Linked DNA regions of Homo sapiens: region 2 is linked to region 1. Evidence: promoter capture Hi-C in 16 types of primary human blood cells and fetal thymus (Javierre and others, 2016). All regions are on one chromosome and are shown on one strand. The core of a region is centred on a gene start or on the middle of the fragment in contact, and the rest is flanking DNA. Distances in the headings are between cores, read along the strand shown. Region 1 holds the start of EIF4E (eukaryotic translation initiation factor 4E). Region 2 holds the start of RPL34 (ribosomal protein L34).

Evidence for each region. Contacts are between HindIII fragments. The CHiCAGO score rates a contact against its expected background, and 5 or more counts as called.
Region 2: a contact is called between the fragment with the promoter of RPL34 here and the fragment with the promoter of EIF4E in region 1, in 1 of 17 cell types (neutrophils). The highest score is 13.8, in neutrophils.

Annotation. Positions count from the first base shown.
Region 1 is chr4:98,927,790-98,930,537 of GRCh38, forward strand. EIF4E (eukaryotic translation initiation factor 4E) reads right to left here and starts at 1,344. Exons shown (of 7, transcript NM_001968.5): 1 at 1,306-1,344. The coding sequence starts at 1,323. RefSeq lists an enhancer at 1,738-2,748. The HindIII fragment of the contact is 5,241 bases long and covers 1-2,748 here.
Region 2 is chr4:108,619,151-108,621,850 of GRCh38, forward strand. It overlaps RPL34 (ribosomal protein L34), which reads left to right and starts at 1,426. Exons shown (of 5, transcript NM_001319236.2): 1 at 1,426-1,450. It overlaps RPL34-DT (RPL34 divergent transcript), which reads right to left and starts at 1,307. Exons shown (of 4, transcript NR_026968.1): 1 at 1,158-1,307. RefSeq lists enhancers at 964-2,163, 1,389-1,438. The HindIII fragment of the contact is 3,742 bases long and covers 956-2,700 here.

The DNA.
Region 1 (2,748 bases), core at 94-2,593:
AGAGTGTGAAAGGTTTTCTGATTGCTAATAAACCCCATTATGCACACAAGATATCTTCACTTAGCTGTGTCGTTTCTAAAAAGGCAACAGGGCCCAGAAGTTTCAGTGAGCCAGTCCTGGCAAACCCAAATTATGAAAAATATACCCTCTGCTTAAAGATTAACTACAAACCTACCCTGGGACCAGCTTGCTTCAGTTAAGTTTAAAATGGTGCCTAAATTGAAATGAAAGTCTGTAGCATAGATAAAGAGAAAAAAAAAGTCAAATGGAAAAGTAAATTTAAAAGTTTCTATTTCCAATAAACTGCGTCTCAGAAATCTTCCAGGAGATAAAGACTCGGAAGAACAGAGGGATTGAGACCCATTCGCATTCTCTGAGGCGTGCGCACTACGCGGAAAGGATGAATGAATGGAAGACGGGCGCGTGTGAAATGCAGCAGGTCCGGCCGGCAAGCCGACCGGCTACAGCGATCTGTAGGCCTCGCTCCTCCCCCTTCCCTCCTCCATGACAGCCCAGTCCCAAGCATGGAGGGGCGAGGACAATGTGATACCCCTTCTCACCACCACCATCCCTCATTCTACTTGGAGAGCTTCACCGTGACACACGAGTGTTCCTTCCCACCCCAGACCTTTCTCGCTTCCCCTGGCGCAAACACCGGCAACTCTCCGGCGCGCTGGATTAACAGACGCTCGCCCCTCTCAACTCCCCTAAGCGAGGTCGAAGCTCCTCCGCGCGTGCCGCGGCACCACTCCCGCCTAACCCACCCTCCGGCAACACTCGCCCACCAGCTCCCCAGTCCACCGGTCTAAGGAAGACGTGCGCGCGCCCCGCACCCGAGCCCCGGAGCTGGGGTTCTGCAGGGAGGGAAAGGCTGCTCCAGGGCTCCCTCCTCCATCTCACTCCAGGCCGGCTCGCCGCCCACCCTGCCTGCGGATCCCAGTACTCGCTGGGAGCCGGCCCTGCGCCTTCCTATCATGAAGACACCATCCTCGCATACCCAGCCCAGAACCCCAGCTACCCTCCACCCTGTAGACACCTCGCGGTTCCGCAGGAGGCGCCACGCCGCCCCTCCCCCACACCGCTCCCCCAGTTCTCGGGCCCCCACCAGAAAGTGTGCGCTACACGCCGCCTCGGCCATCCTCCGGGACGTCCCCACTTGTCCGCGGGAGGTCAGGTCCAACATGAAGGGGAAGGGGCGGCAAGGGGTACAGTGCGCGCCGGGAACGCCGTCCCGCGGAGTCCCCCAGTCAGAAGGAAGACGGAGCGCGGGGACCCGTGGGGGTGGGGGCCAAAGGCAATACTCACCGGTTCGACAGTCGCCATCTTAGATCGATCTGATCGCACAACCGCTCCAGAAGGGGGGGTAAGAGGAAAAAAATGAGATTCAAACCGGATTGGCCAGCTTCTGGCCACGTGACGGATATGTCCGTTTGGCCCTGGCGGCACCTGCGCAAGACTGCGGCTGCGTGAGTAACGAGAGGCTTCTGGGAAGTGGAGTCTCTCCCCCACCTTTTTTTTTTTTTTTTTTTTAAGGTAAAGAAATTTTTTTTAAAAAGGACTGGTCACGTGGCCGATGGGTAGGGTGCGCGGTTCTCAACGCGGCGGACACTCGCTTGCTGGAGGGTGGTTTCAGTCCTCTGCTCTTCCGCCTGGATAGCTGCGGTCACACTTACTGCCAGGCAAGCCTACTGTGCCCTTTGTCGCCCTGTCCTCCCATCTTCCCCGGAAGGTTGGGAACTGCAGGCTCAGCACACACAATAAGGCTTCATTTGCTTAGTTGAGGTCCCAGGACAAGTTGCCTGTGTGTTTATTTAGTTTTCTTTTGATCTCCCACCATTTTCTCTTAGTTTCAAAAAGAGGCGGCGATGCAGAGTCGTTTAGGCAATCAACCCTCCCACGTCCCCTGGCTCAGCTAATGCTGGTGGTCATTCGTTGCCATTTCTGCGAAAGGGGACGGACGGAACCGCCCGCAGTACCCGCTTGCCACCGGCTGGACGAGGGGGAGGGACGACAGCTTTTACTGTCCCAAATCCTGAGATTAAGACCTCAGGGCTAAATCTTGCGTGGCGGTAAAAATTATTTGGAAGTTCTGTGCAACCGTTCCAATATTCCGCTTTTACGTGCACGGAAATAGCCTAAGTCCAGATGCCAGCCAGGGAAGCCACTCCGGGCCCCGCTGACTAAGCCCTGGACTGATGGTCTGGAGTCTTTAGGCCGGGTCAACTATGACTCTTGACGTTGACTCATTCTCCTTAGGCGAGTGACTTAATCGCTCGGCGTCTCAGCTTTTTTATTTATGAACCAAAGGTGATGATACACTTACCTCACAAGGGTGTGCTTCGTAATGACTGTAACCGGCTTTGAAAATGCATCGGACTCTAGAAATGATTCATAATAAGCAACTGCGTGCCTTCCTAAAGATCAAGTGCTTCTGCTTTTTTTTTTTAGCAAAGTTTAAATTTTTTTCTGTTTACTTTGTTTGATTATGATGTACACCAGTGTAGTTTTAAATGTTCAGGACCATTTTTTTTCCTTTACAACTGCAGCTGCCCTCAATAGAGGCTTTAATGTTCATGAAATTATTGTTATGCTCACAACAATCACTGGCAATCAGAAATTTGTCCCCACACTGGCATCCTACATTTCCTTTCCCTCTAAGATACTGTGCTGTCATTTCTCAAGACCGTGTTTTTTGCACAGTTTGGCTACTAATAACAACAAATAGAGATGAAGAAATCTAGTAGACTC
Region 2 (2,700 bases), core at 176-2,675, 9.7 Mb after region 1:
AAATACATTCATTAGTGCATTTATTCAAAAACCACATTTGTCTCTCTATGCAAGCTTCCATCTCAATGCCTGGCACAGAGACGAAAAGGATTTCAGAGGACAAAAATCAAAGGACTGGAAAGGAGGGAAGTAGCTGATGACAAGGTCGGGGGAGAAGCAGCTATTTGAGAGTGAGCAGAGGGAAGGATATAACCAGAGCCTTCCATCTGGTGTTGTGACAAAGATGGCAGTGATGTGAGGCTTGATAGAATCAATAGGCCTCACAGTTCAAGACAGACTACATGCCCTCAGTCACTTGCCTGCTTTCTTGGTTTGCTAGATGGATTAGAAATACTAGAAGGAAAGTTGAGTGGGTACTGGGATATCCTATCCAAATCCTCTCTTCTGGGGCAATGCAGCTGCCTCACAGCAACCACGTTGTGGATCACCTGACCCCGCCTTTCTCAGCTTCCTGGAGGTGCATTCTAAGAGCGCTCCCCATAAGCCAACACTCAAGTCTCTTCGAGGTGTGTTTCCAGGGAGCCTGATCTAAGATTAAAAACTTAAAGGCCCCTTTTAGAATTGTCTTTTACAGCCCAGGCAAAGAGTTCTTTACTTTTTTAGAGGTCATGAATCCCTTTGACAAGGTGATGAAAGCCAGGGACCCTCTTCTCAGAAAAATACACACGTGCGCTTAATGTAAAATTTTACATACTGTTTTAAAGGTTAAACTTTACCACCCATGAAAAGCCTCAAGTAGTTCTTTGTACATAATCATAAGATTAGCAACCATTTACTGAGCACTTCCTCTCTATAAGACCCTGTGCTAAGTGCTTTAACTTCATAATGCCTTTGATCATGACATAACATGGCACGGTAGTTCCTAATATCTTCCTTTTAGAGATTTAAGGGCTTGCTCAAAGTAACATAGCTAATAATTAGCAGACACTGGATTAAAATCCCAATTTGTTTGTAAAGCTTGTGCTCTGAATAAATGACAAGGAAAGAGAAGGGAAGGTTGAAGAAGGGAAGGTTCTTGAAGGTCCCTGGTCCTTGAAGGTCCCTTAACCATAAATGTCAAGAGTTGGGATTTAAACCCAGGTCTAACGCCAGAGCTGGCGCCCTTTAGATTAAAAGTGCAGTGTCCATGACAACGAAAGAAGTTGATTTTGTCCCACCTTTGCTCTTTGCGGCTTTTCATTTGCGTTTGTTTCCACAGCGATTTCCAATAGATTTCTGCGTGGCCTTGACACAGACAGCTAGTGTGAATCCCCGCCCACAGAGGGGCGGCACGTTGGTTGCCGTACAACGTGGTGGTTCCCTGCATCTCTGCCCACGTCGGAGAGGTGCGTCGGCTTCCGTACAACACGGATACTCTCTCTCTGACGCAACTTCCTGTCCTGCGCAATTCTATTTGACCTTTGAACTGGCAAAGGCTTTTTTCTTCCTCTTCCGGGGACGTTGTCTGCAGGTATGGATGTTGTTCTCTTTTCCCTGTCTTTATTTCCTTACCAATCGGCTGCCATCCGAGGAGCTGAGGAAGCCTAGAGCTCTCAGAAGCAGTCCTTTGAGCTGGTGTAGGGGTAAGGGGCACAACAGGGAGGTTGGTGGTGAGGAAGTTCCTTACTTTGATCTTTGGAAATCCCTTGTTCCTGGTGGCACCTCCAAAGCCGTGAGTAGCCACAGCTCACCACCCGGGACTTTGCTGCATTCCAAGTGTAGCGTTTGGAGACTAACGAGTTGTGGTTTGGCGGTTTGAGTCTGGAAAATCGCCAAACGTTTTCATATTTTACACCCACGTTTTCACAGCACGCCTGTACGTGTCCTTAGTCTTTGGGAGGGCAGGGTCCGGCGAGTTCGGGTGGTTTCGCTATTTGGCTTCTGCGTCCAAGGCCCATGTCAAGGAAGAGAAAAATGTGTTAGAAGTTTCTGTCTTGCTTTTGGAGATGCAAACAGAATAATGGCTTCATAAATCACTCGCACTGGTTTTACGTGTCAAGTTTTGGTGTCTGGTAATTCTGTTTTAGTTTAATTTTAGTGAGAGGCTTGTGACAACAAATGAGGTGGTTACAAGGGGTGGAATGGGAAGATTAAATTAGTTCAAGTATTGATTATGTTTTACGTTGGGTAGTTCCCTTAACGAAGTTGCTCGTATGCATATCTGTATAACCGATTTGCTAAATAACATCACGATGTTTCCAGAAGTGGGAAGAAAGCAGGTGCCATAACCCAAAGAAACTTGTGTAATATCAAAATTAGTATTAAAGGGTATGCCTTTACGCAGGTGGTGCTTTAGGGCAAGACATTGAACCCTGATATGTGCCAGGCATTGTGTTGGGACGGATAGCCCACGTCGTTTAATCCTAATGACAGCTGTATAAAGTAGACAGAATTCCCATGTTAGAGATAAGGAGGCTAGCTCCTTGCCCTTTATATTCCCAGTAAATGGCATAGCTAAGGATTCGACTTCAGAGCTCACTTTTTGTGCTCTTTGTTTAAAGCGGTGTTTCTCCAACTGGGCTCGTGGCACTTTTCTGGACACCACTCCAAACAAAATTAGACTCTGAGTAAGGAGCCTGGTCATCAGAACGTTAAGGAAGTGCCACGTTTGATTACCATCAGGAAAGCTAACATTCTTGGCCTCTTGTTTATCAGTCACCTTTAAATACAAGTAGTTTTAAAATGTGGAATAATACATCTTAATTTAAGGGTGTTACATAC